3 separate regions of the Homo sapiens genome follow, and regions 2 and 3 are each linked to region 1. The links are contacts of gene promoters, found by promoter capture Hi-C in human tissues and cell types (Jung and others, 2019). All regions are on one chromosome and are shown on one strand. The core of a region is centred on a gene start or on the middle of the fragment in contact, and the rest is flanking DNA. Distances in the headings are between cores, read along the strand shown. Region 1 holds the start of FAM78A (family with sequence similarity 78 member A). Region 2 overlaps PRRC2B (proline rich coiled-coil 2B). Region 3 overlaps PRRC2B (proline rich coiled-coil 2B).

Region 1 (3,728 bases), core at 662-3,161:
GCCTACAAAGCCCCCGCGCTGTCTCCACCAAGCCACTGTCTCCCTGCGGTCAGGAACCCCAGGGCAAGGGAGCCCTTCTGCGGGTGCTCCGAACCCCAGAAAGCCTCTGGTCCATAGAGTTCAAAGGGCACTGGGAGCAGCCCACCTGGCCCCGAGACAGCAGCGGAACTACACTACCCAGAATTCCCGGGGCTGGCCAAAAAGGAAATGTCGTTTGTTCAAGGAGAGGCTCAGCTCCCCGAGCAGCTGCAGAGACAGGGAGCGAGGGGGAGCGAGGGATTACCAGGGGGAGGGCGGGCTGTGTGCGGGGAGCGAGGGTGGAGAGCCAGGCGGGCGGGGAGGAGGAGGCGGCGCCCGCCCGCCGCCGCCGCCGCCGCCTGCGGACCTGCATCCCCGCGGGGCCGGCGAGCGGGCGGCGGTCCCTGCGTGCGCCGGCTGCGCTCGGCCGGCGGCGGCGGCGAGCGGACGCGGGGGCCGGGCCGGCGCAGGGGCCGAGTTTCTGCAAAGTTTGACCCGGTTGCCTTTCCGATGCTGCAGCAGAGCGAGGCAGCGCGGGGCGCGCCAGGCGGCAGCGGCGCGGCGGCGGGGCTGAGCGGCGACAGCGCGCTCACAATGATCATAAAATAAAGGAGGCGCGCGGGGTGGGGGCGAGAGAGCCCCGAGCCTCAGCCCTCCGCCCCCGGCCGCCCCCCCGAAGCCCCAAGCCGGGAGGAGGGTGGGGGCCGGGGGCGCCCACGCCGGCCCCAGACTCCAGTAGAGCCAAGGGACAGTGCCCGGGGAAGGGGGTGGGGGCGCCCCAAGAACGTGCCCGCGGCCGGGTCAGGGGCGTCCGGAGAGCGGCTGCCCGGGCCAGCGGAGTGGCCCCCGGGGCAGGTGAGTCGGCGGCGCCGCCCGAGTGGGGGCGTGCGCGCCAAAGTTCCCCGGCAGCGGCGAGCGCGCCCGACGCGTGGGGACCCGGGGCTGCTCGCGGCTGGAGAGGGGCGACAGAGGCGCTTGACGCGGCGGAGCGGGGGCACTATGCCCTCCGAGGGCCGAGGGACCCCAGCCGGGAAAGGGGTGCCCGCCGGATCCGACGGCACTGGTGGGTGGCCCTGCGCCCAGGGAGCCGGAGGGACCGGGGTGGGGAAGGGGCACCTGGCGCTGGCGGCGCGGCGGTGGGGACAGAGCAGGGCAAGTGCTCGCCGCCCCCTGCAGCGGCAGCCGCTCGCCCCCCACCCCGCCCGTCCGGGACGGTATCAGCGGAGATGTCACGGGCGGCTATTATTCGCTGGTGCGCGCGGTCGTGCGGCCGCCACTGACGGGGCGGGCGCGGGGGGCGGGGGCCACCGCCTCCGGGGAGACCGCCCAGAGCTGCGCCGTCAGCTCCGCAGCCCGCGCCCAGCGCACACGCGTCGCCGCCCCCGCGCGCCCCCCGCAGCAAAGTTCGGCTTAACTTTGAGGCTGGCCTTGACGCGCTGTCCCTTCCACCTCCCACCAGGTCCTCGGCGGCCGCGGCGAAGCAGGCGGCGGCGGCCGGAGCGCAGCCCCGGGACCCTGCACGGCGGCCGGCAGCGACAGCGGCGAAGGGACGCGGCGCCCCTGCGTGGGGACGTCCGGCCCGCGCCCGCGAGTGGGCGCCGACGGGGACCCGCGCCGCGCTCCCCCGTCACCGGCGAGCGGCCGGAGCCCTGAGCTCGCCTCCTGGAAGCCGCGGGTCGGCGCTCGCCCCGAGGGCGCCGGGACCTCGGCCGGGTGAACACAAACTGCTCTGCAATTGATTCGACCGCGCCGGGCGGGTGCGGGTGCGGGGCCCGGAGGGAGCGCGTGCGGAAGGCCGGAGGGCAGGAAGTCAGGCTTCTGCCGCGAGGGTGGCGCGGCCGCGCGGGGACAGAGCCTTCCTTATTTATGAGTCTGCCGGCGCTCGCCTGCTTCCTCCGAAGACTTCAGGGAGAGTCTGCGAGCTGCCGTCCCCGCGTGTGAGGCACAGAAGGGCTGGATGTCAGAACCGCATAATTATTCATTAAACTACAAACTTTTTTTAACCCAAAGAATATCGGTGATTTTTGTCCACTGCGAGGAGAAGAAGAGAGAGCCCAGGGCTCATGAAATGCAGCAGAATCCTTATTTATAAACAGGCCGCGGTAGTGATATATGCAACCCCAGTCTACTCAGTGAGTTTTCTATCCTATGGATATCGGTCTTGAGAGTTGAGATTGGAGAGCAGCGCCGTCTGTACTGGGTCCTGCAGCCTCTGTCCTTTCAATGCCTGGTTTTTTCTGTGACTGCTGGCCTTCCCTGGAGATCAGAGCGCTCCTGTATGCCATGGGCTGTATTCAGAGCATCGGAGGCAAAGCCAGAGTCTTCCGGGAAGGGATCACGGTGATTGATGTGAAAGCCTCCATCGACCCCGTCCCCACTAGCATCGATGAGTCCTCCAGCGTGGTGCTCCGCTACCGGACACCCCACTTCCGGGCCTCGGCCCAGGTGGTCATGCCGCCCATCCCCAAGAAGGAGACTTGGGTAGTTGGCTGGATCCAGGCGTGCAGCCACATGGAGTTCTACAACCAGTACGGCGAGCAGGGCATGTGAGTACGGCCGAGAGCCAGCTCTGGGAACTGCTAGGGATGGCCGAGCTTGGAGGCCTGGTGGGGGGCCGCGGATAGGGGGAAGGTGGAGATACCATGAAGACAGGACGGAGGCCAGAGGGAAGCTTTAGGCAGGTATGCAGGTGGCCTCATTGGCCCGGTGGCTCCCTGAAAAGTTTGCCTGTGGATCCAGATTGGAGTCACGGTCCTGCAATCTACCCTGCCACTGTTCCCCCCGGGTTCCTGTGTCCTTCCCTGCAAGATGCCGAGAAAGCAGAGAGACATTACTCCCAGTGTTTCCTGGCAGAGCAAGTGTGCCGTCCGCCTGAGGAGTGTCTGTGCCATCAGGGGTCACCAGAGAGGCTGCAGGGCTGCCCTCCAGGCCTCTGGCCCTGTGCGGGCCCATGGCAGACATTCAGGCACTCTGCAACTCCCAGACCGGTGTGTTCAGGGCTTTGCGATTGGGCCTCAATTATCTTTCTGGCTTTTACCAGTGTATGCCAGGAGCTGGGGGAGTGCTTCCCCGTTCCAAACGGCACTGTGTTTGAGAGCACAGTTAGTTTTAGAAGCCCGATTTCTTCACAGTGTATCGCTTTCTGTCTCCAAGGCAGAAGACCGCTTTATGCAGACAAGTCCAGTGTCCCTCTGGCGAGGCCCTAACAGGAACAGCAAAGAGGAGCCTCTCCTCTGCAGCCCCAAAGCCCGGTCTCCAGAGTGTGCCTAGGGTATTGGGGGTCCCGGTGAGGACCCTGGGACCCTGGGGCTCCTTTCCTGGCCTGCTTCCTGACCCCAGAGAAGGCCGTCCCCAGGGTGAAAAGAGCTGCATTTAGGCAGAGTTGGGAGAGTGACTTAATCTGAAGGTTCACCCTAAGACAGGGATGGTGAAAATAGCTGTTTCTGAGCGTAAGGACCCTTTGGAGAGAGCTAGGCAGGCCCCGGCGGGCAGCCCACCCATGCGGCCCCGTGACTGGCCGCTGACACTCCCAGAACCTCTCTCAGTGTCTACCCTGTGGCCCCGTGACTGGCCGCTGACACTCCCAGAGCCTCTCTCAGTGTCTACCCTGTGCAGCTTCACGTCCCCGTTTTGCAAGTGGGGAAAAGAGGAGAATTTCCCCAGGAGCTGGAACTTATCACAGATTTAAGAATCTCATGGGCCACCTGTAA
Region 2 (3,665 bases), core at 642-3,141, 130 kb before region 1:
ATACCCGCACTGTGGCAGCATTGTTTGGAAGAACTATGGAAATGAGCTCAGTCTGTCACATGGATAATTACATCCACATAACCAAAAACCATCCTACAATAAGAACAAATAAACATACACAACTATACAGATGAAACGCACAAAAAAAATGTTGAATCAAAGGAGACAGACACAAAAGAGCAAGCAGCAGAGCAGGGTAGTTTTAAAGGGCCAAGAGGACCACCCACAATGAAAGTACAAACATTAGAACAAACAGAAGCCTGTCCACCTTGGTAGATCAAGCCCATCAAGATAGAGACGGTCAACGTAGATGAGCAAACATGTTCTAAAAGTGACTATATTAGACTTTAAGAAAAATTCAGGCCAGGTACAGTGGCTCACACCTGTAATCCCCACACTCTGAGAGTCCGAAGTGAGAGGATCGCTTGAGGTGAGGAATTTGAGATCAGTCTGGGCAATACAGCAAGACGCCATCTCTACAGAAAAAAAAAAAAAAATTAATTAGCTGGGTGTGGTGGCACATGCCTGGATCCCAGCTACTTGGGAGACTCCCTTGAATCCAGGAGTTTGGGGTTGCAGTAAGCCGTGACTGTGCCACTGCACTCCACCCTGGGTGACAGAACAAGACTCTGTCTGAAAAAAGAAAAGAAAAATCCCAAATTCTGTAAAGTAAAACTGACAACAGTGCAATAAAACAAGACATGATGAAAGTAGAAATAATAACCCCAAGAGCTGGAAAACCTAACACTCTCTACTAAAAAAGTTTTGAATCTAAGTGGAATTCAAAACCACACCTGCAAAATATCTAGAAAATAGTACAAATGAGGCCAGGCGCAGTGGCTCATGCCTGTAATCTCAGCACTTTGGAAGGCCGAGGCGGGCGGATCACGAGGTCAGGAGATCAAGACCATCCTGAACACAGTGAAACCCTGTCTCTACTAAAAATACAAAAAATTAGCCAGGCGTGGTGGCAGGCGCCTGTAGTCCCAGCTACTCGGGAGGCTGAGGCAGGAGAATGGAGTGAACCCGGGAGGTGGAGCTTGCAGTGAGCCGAGATTGCGCCACTGCACTCCAGCCTGGGCAACAGAGCAAGACTCCGTCTCAAAAAAAAAAACAAAACAAAAAACAAAACAAAACAAAAAAACAAACAAAAAAAAGAAAATAGCACAAATGAAAAACAGAACACTGCATAACAAAGCTTTCTTCCCCTGCCGACACAGTCTCGCTCTGTCACCCAGGCTGGAGTACAGTGGCGTGATCTCGGCTCACTGCAATCTCCACCTCCCGGGTTCAGGCGATTCTCCTGCCTCAGCCTCCCAAGTAGCTGGGATTACAGGTGCCTGCCACCACCCCCAGCTAATTCTTTTTATTTTTAGTAGAGATGGGGTTTCACCATGTTGGCCAGGCTGGTCTCCAACTCTTGATCTTAGGTGATCCGCCCTCCTCGGCCTCCCAGAGTGCTGGGATTACTGGCCGTAAGAAAACTTTCAAAGCAAAAATAAATCTGTACTCAGAGGAAATATCCTAAAAACCAAATTCCTAACGAAAAAAAATGAAATATAAATTAAGCATCCAAGTTAAGAAATCAGAAAAAAACCAATGCAAGCAAATGTAAGGGAAAGCAGAAACAATGAAGAAAAAGCCTAAAGAGAGCTAGGGAGTGTAATAAATACATCTGCATAAAATTGCATTTAAGAATAGGAGCTCCTCCAGTCAGGTGAGGTCCACAAGGAAAAAAAGAAAAGAAAAAATGAATAAAATTAGTTCCTTGAACGAAGAAACAAAATAGATAAACCACTCAGAGAAGGGTATTAGTACTTCCATTTTATAGACATGAAGGCTCCGCAAGGTTAAATAACTAGTTCAAGGTCACTATCATCCAGTTAGTGAGTCTAAAAAATCTGAACCTGAACCCGGGGTGATGTGACATCCAGACTTACTTGGGCAGTGTTGGGCACTGGAAGAACGACGCCTGCTGCCATGATTGGGAGGCCCATGCGGTGGGCCCCAGAGAATGGCCCCACCTGCCCACGGTACTCCCTGGCCCTGCCAGCACCCCTGGGGACCTGAGGTGAATGTGAAGTGCAGGCCTGGCCTGCGGTGGGGTGTGAACTGGCGCTGGCACTGTTATCTTTACTCTAATACAGCATCCCACACCCCCAGAGTCTGCACCAGCTCTGGGCTCCTCACCCACAGGGTCTGCCTGGAGCCCCTCTCCTCATCTAGCTCACAGGCAGGCAGGCTTGGGCTGAAGCCTGAAGAGGACTCTGGCTGGAAAGCCCATATGCGGTCTCCAAGTTCCTGCCTACCTCCCGCTTTGAAGATGCGGTTAATTTAGCAAGGGGGGTGGGGAAGAAGATGATTTCAACATATGGTGAGTGATGAACAGTTGGACAGATGTGCTATACAAAGGCCTCCCTCTCTGGCGTCAAAATTTAACAAGGACCTGGCAAATAAAAGAAATACATGAAATACATGGGCTTCTTTCAGTTACTCCTTCCTTTTCCACCTCCAAATAATGGTGAATTAACAAATGAGAAGTACTCTGCAAATGCAACCAAAATCTATGTTCTTTATTGTACAATCTGATTTAGTAGAGAAGAGAAATCGGAGACAGCATTTGTATTGGATTGTTCCTTCTAACCAGATAAACAAAGCAGTTTCTGAGGGCCACTGACACATCAACAGAGACAGACGATTGAACTAGTTAAATTCACAGTAACCACTGGGGCCCAATACCAGGAGCCAGGGTGCACTGGATGGGTCTGCGTGGAATACGAAGCCTGGAGCAGCTCTTACCTCACGGTAAGTTTGATCTGGCACCAGGAAAAGAGCCACCAACACAGCAGCTGCCCCAGCCCAGCCCGGCCCCCACAGGCTCCACTGTACTGAAATGCATGCGAGTTACCTTTGTTATTATCTTTGTAACCAATACATGTTACTAATACACATTCAGTAAGACAAATTCAAAAGATACTAATGTGGCCAGGGAGCAGTGGCTCACACCTATAATCCCAGCACTTTGGGAGGCCGAGATGGGCAGATCACCTGGGGTCAGGCGTTCGAGACCAGCCTGGCCAACCAACATGGTGAAATCCCGTCTCTACTAAAAATACAAAAATTAGCCAGGCGTGGTGGCAGGCACCTGTAAGGTGCGGTGGCTCACGTCTGTAATCCCAGCATTTTGGGAGGCCAAGACGGGCAGATCACCTGAGGTCGGGAGTTCGAGACCAGCCTGACCAACATGGAGAAACCCCATCTCTATTAAAAATACAAAATTAGCCGGGCGTCGTGGCACATGCCTGTAATCTCAGTTACTTGGGAGGCTGAGGCAAGAGAATCGCTTGAACTCAGGAGGTGGAGGTTGCAGTGAGACAAGATCGCGCCATTGCACTCCAGCCTGGGCGACAAGAGCAAAACTCCATCTCAGGAAAAAAAAAAAAAAAAGTGGCTGAGCGCAGTGACTCATGCCTGTAATCCCAGCACTTTGGGAGGCCGAGGGGGGTGGATCACCTGAGGTTGGGAGTTTGAGACCAGCCTGACCAACATGGAGAAACCTCGTCTCTACTGAAAACACAAAATTAGCTGGGTGTGGTGGCACATGCCTGTAATCCCAGCTACTCGGAAGGCTGAGGCAGGAGAATCACTTCAACCCAGGAGGCGGA
Region 3 (3,822 bases), core at 259-2,758, 180 kb before region 1:
AGTCCTCATGATCCTCACTTTAAAGCAAGCTTGTCCAACCACATGTGGCCCAGGATGGCCCTGGGCTCTGGATGCAGCGCAACACAAATTCGTAAACTTTCTTAAAACATTATAAGAGGGCCTGGGCGTAGTGGCTCACGCCTGTAATCCTAGCACTTTGGGAGGCTGAGGCGGGCTGATCATTTGAGGTCAGGAGTTCCAGATCAGCCAGGCCAACATGGTGAAACCAAGTCTCTACTAAAAATACAAAAATTAGCCAGGTGTGGTAGCAGGCACCTGTAATCTCAGCTACTAGAGGCTGAGGTGGGAGAAGTGCTTGAACCCCAGAGGTGAAGGTTGCAGTGAGCCAAAATCGCGGCACTACACTCCAGCCTGGGCAACAAACAGAGAGAGACTCCGTCTCAGAAAAAAAAAAAAATAAAAACACATTATGAGGTATTTTTTCGTAACTTTTTCATTTTAGCTTATCAGCTATCGTTAGTGTTAGTGTATTTTATGTGTGGCTCAAGACAACTCTTCCAGTGTGGCCCAGGGAAGCCAAAAGATTGGACACTCTTGATTTAAAAAGTCAGTAGCTGAGTCTCATCAAGGTTAACGGGGCACCCCTCACAGGGAGGAGCTCACAGATTTGAACCAGGACTCCCAGGTGCGTGTCCGTCTCCTTTTGGTACATCTCCCTCCCTATGCTCTGCACAAGCCAGTTGCTCAATAAATGCCCCTCAAAAGAACAAAAGATGACTACTAAACAGTGCCACAATAAAAAGAGCAAGAGGAGACAAGCAGAGCCGACACAGCATGGAAAAGGAGGAGGTGTTCCAAACAGAGCTGCAGGGGTGGCTGGACAAGAAGGGGATGGGTGCCATGCTCGTCTGGACGCCTCACAATGGAAGCAATGGTGCTGGGGCAAAGCATTTGCAAGGGCCCGGTAATACTGCAGATCAGAGAAAAGCGGGAATCAGGGATGGCAGATGTGTGGGCCTGTGTGTCTACCCACACACGTACGTGGCGAGGGAGGGAAGACGAGGCAGGTAACATAGCTTAGGAGATTACAGAGGGGAAAATTACAGAGGGGACAACAATTACAGAGGGGACAACGGTGATTCCTATCTGACTTTGTCAGAAATGGAGACCACAGTAAAGCTGCTGACCTGTCTAAAAGACCTGTGTTTTTAGAAGATGACTATGGGCAGGGTGTCAAGGACGGGCCATGGAGGACAGGCTGAAAGGATGGAGATGAACTGGTGGACCCATGGATGGTCTGGAAAAGGAGGAGGTCCCAGTGGCCCCAGAGAAAATGAAAAGAGGAGACAGAGTCAGGGCAAGTTTTGGGAGCCAATTGTGTATGAGGAAATAAAGATGCCAAATAAGACATGGATGCATGCACTAAGTCTCTACCAGGTCACCAACCAGCTCAGAGAACATGAAGAAAAAGAGCAGGTTTCAGGAGGAGATCGTTCGGGCACTCTGATTTTGAAGTGCCCTTGGTCAAAGTCAGGGGCAAAACTGTCTCCAAAACCAATGTCCAGTTCCTTCAGGGGAATATGCAGTTCCCATCGCCTCAAAGAGACAAGGAACACAGAGTGTCCTACTGCTCCAATCAGTCTCTAAGAGTTTATGTCTTTGCCTTTGATTTTAATTCTTGATCACAGCTCCTTCTGAGCTTAGTGTTCCAGGAACTGACCCATAGGTATGTCCCGACTGCATCCAAAGCTTCAGCTGAAATCAAACAGCATGAAAGGAAATTACAGAATTTCATTTTTTGTGTGTCATCAGAAAAAGAGTAGCAAAGATTATTACCAACTCTTTCCAGAAGATGGGCACTTACTTTAGGAAGCTTTTAAGTAAAGGATGAAATAACAAAGAAAAAGATGACTCACAGATTTGACTAAACAAATATTCAGTTATTGACAAGAAAACAGAGAAAAATATTTGCAAGACCAACAGCAAAGCATTAACATCTAAACAATATAAAACATTACATTTTAACGGAAAGCAGTGATAAATGTGAAGGAAACAGGCATTATACAAAGGAAGCAAAGGAAAAAGTCTTACTTGCTAGTACTCAAAAAATACAAATTATGACAACCATAGGTATGATTGTTATTATTAATTTTTTGAGACAGGGCCTTACTCTGTCACTCAGGCTGGAGTGCAGTGGTGCAATCATGGCTCACTGCAGCCTCGACCTTCTGGATTCCAGTAGTCCTCCCACCTCAGCCTCCTGAGTAGCTAGGACTACAGGTGCACACCACGCCCAACTAATTGTGGGGTATTTTTTTTTTTTGAGGTGGAGTCTCGCTCTGTTGCCCGGGCTGGAGTGCAGTGGCATGTGGCGTGATCTCGGCTCACTGCAAGCTCCGCCTCCCGGGTTCATGCCATTCTCCTGCCTCAGCCTCCCGAGTAGCTGGGACTACAGGCACCTACCACCATGCCCAGCTAGTTTTTTGTATTTTTAGTAGAGACGGGGTTTCACTGTGTTAGCCAGGATGGTCTCGATCTCCTGACCTCGTGATCCGCCCGCCTTGGCCTCCCAAAGTGCTAGGATTACAGGCGTGAGCCACCGTGCCTGGCCATTGTGGGGTATTATTTTAAAAGTGCTACTAACATTATAAAAACTAGAGGGATGAGAGTACAATGCAGTATTTTCTAAAGGAAATTAAACAAAACTAAACTAGTCCAAGGAAATGATCCAAAAAAAAAAAAAAAAAAAGAGACAAAATTAACATGGTCAAATAAATTCAGGAAAGCTGGCATGCATTCTGCTTCTTCACCTCCCCAGTGCACTTAATTTTTTTTTTCTTTTTCCTTTGAGACAGAGTTTTGCTCTGTCGCCCAGGCTGAAGTACAGTGGCACAATCTTGGCTCACTGCAACCTCTGCCTCCTGGGTTCAAGCAATTCTCCTGCCTCAGCCACCCAAGTAGCTGGGATTACAAGCACACGCCACCACACCTGGTTAATTTTTGTACTTTTAGTAGAGACGGGGTTTCACCATCTTGGGCAGGCTGGTCTCAAACTCCTGACCTCAAGAGATCCACCTGCCTCGGCCTCCCAAAGTGCTGGAATTAACAGCACGAGCCGCCGTGCCCGGCCCCCAGTGTACTTTAGCATGTTCAAGGCTCCGAGGAATCTGGAGTAAAGAAAGAAGTTGAGGCCAGGCACAGTGGATCACTTGAGCCCAGGAGTTTGAGACCAAACCTGGGTAACGTGGCAAACCCCATCTCCAGCAGAAAGATAAAAATTAGCTGGGTATGCTGGCGTGCATCTGTGGTCCTAGCTATTTGGGAAGCTGGGGTGGGAGAATCGCTGAGCCCAGGAGATGGAGGTTTTAGTGAGCTGACATCATGCCACCGCACTCCAGCCTGGGTGACAGAGTGAGAGCCTGTCTCAAAAAAAAAAAAAAAAAAAAAAAAGAAGTTGAACCCAGGGAGGTTTCCCAAACTTGCTTGGCCACAGCAGCCTTTTTGGGCACGACAGCCACAAGCAATCCATGAAGACGTGGTCTGCATAACACACCTGGGGACACACTGATGCAGTGGTGAAGAGGCCGACTATGCACAGGACACAGTCACACCTGCAGGCAAACCCTGGCTCCCCTCCTTCACAGCCATCATCAATAGCTGTCACCCTCAAAACAAAGTGGAAACAGCATCTGTCTGCCATTCCAGGTTGCTATGGAAACTGGGAAATGCTCTGGGTACACAACAACACTAAGCAGGGATGCACTCATGCTGATAGGGCAGGAACGGGTCCTTACCACTTTGGCCTGCCGTCCTTCACAACTTCTTCCTCCTCTTCATCATCACTGAACTTCAGTTTCTCAG

What was found. Contacts are between HindIII fragments. The study calls those that stand out against the background at their distance.
Region 2: a fragment that was not itself captured here is called in contact with the fragment with the promoter of FAM78A in region 1 in 2 of the 25 tissues and cell types used here (heart left ventricle and thymus).
Region 3: a fragment that was not itself captured here is called in contact with the fragment with the promoter of FAM78A in region 1 in 2 of the 25 tissues and cell types used here (bladder and mesenchymal stem cells).

What each region holds. Positions count from the first base shown.
Region 1 is chr9:131,274,693-131,278,420 of GRCh38, reverse strand. FAM78A (family with sequence similarity 78 member A) reads left to right here and starts at 1,911. Exons shown (of 2, transcript NM_033387.4): 1 at 1,911-2,564. The coding sequence starts at 2,242. RefSeq lists enhancers at 102-201, 2,382-2,881, 3,042-3,091, 3,122-3,171, 2,584-3,196 and 3 more and a silencer at 562-1,741. The HindIII fragment of the contact is 9,704 bases long and covers 1-3,728 here.
Region 2 is chr9:131,408,803-131,412,467 of GRCh38, reverse strand. The region is part of intron 1 of PRRC2B (proline rich coiled-coil 2B); the gene reads right to left. Among named protein-coding and RNA genes, the nearest start is that of PRRC2B, 17 kb to the right of the region's middle. RefSeq lists an enhancer at 3,103-3,603. The HindIII fragment of the contact is 5,892 bases long and covers 1-3,665 here.
Region 3 is chr9:131,455,100-131,458,921 of GRCh38, reverse strand. PRRC2B (proline rich coiled-coil 2B) reads right to left here. Exons shown (of 32, transcript NM_013318.4): 10 at 3,756-3,822. Among named protein-coding and RNA genes, the nearest start is that of SNORD62A, 29 kb to the left of the region's middle. The HindIII fragment of the contact is 3,387 bases long and covers 1-3,201 here.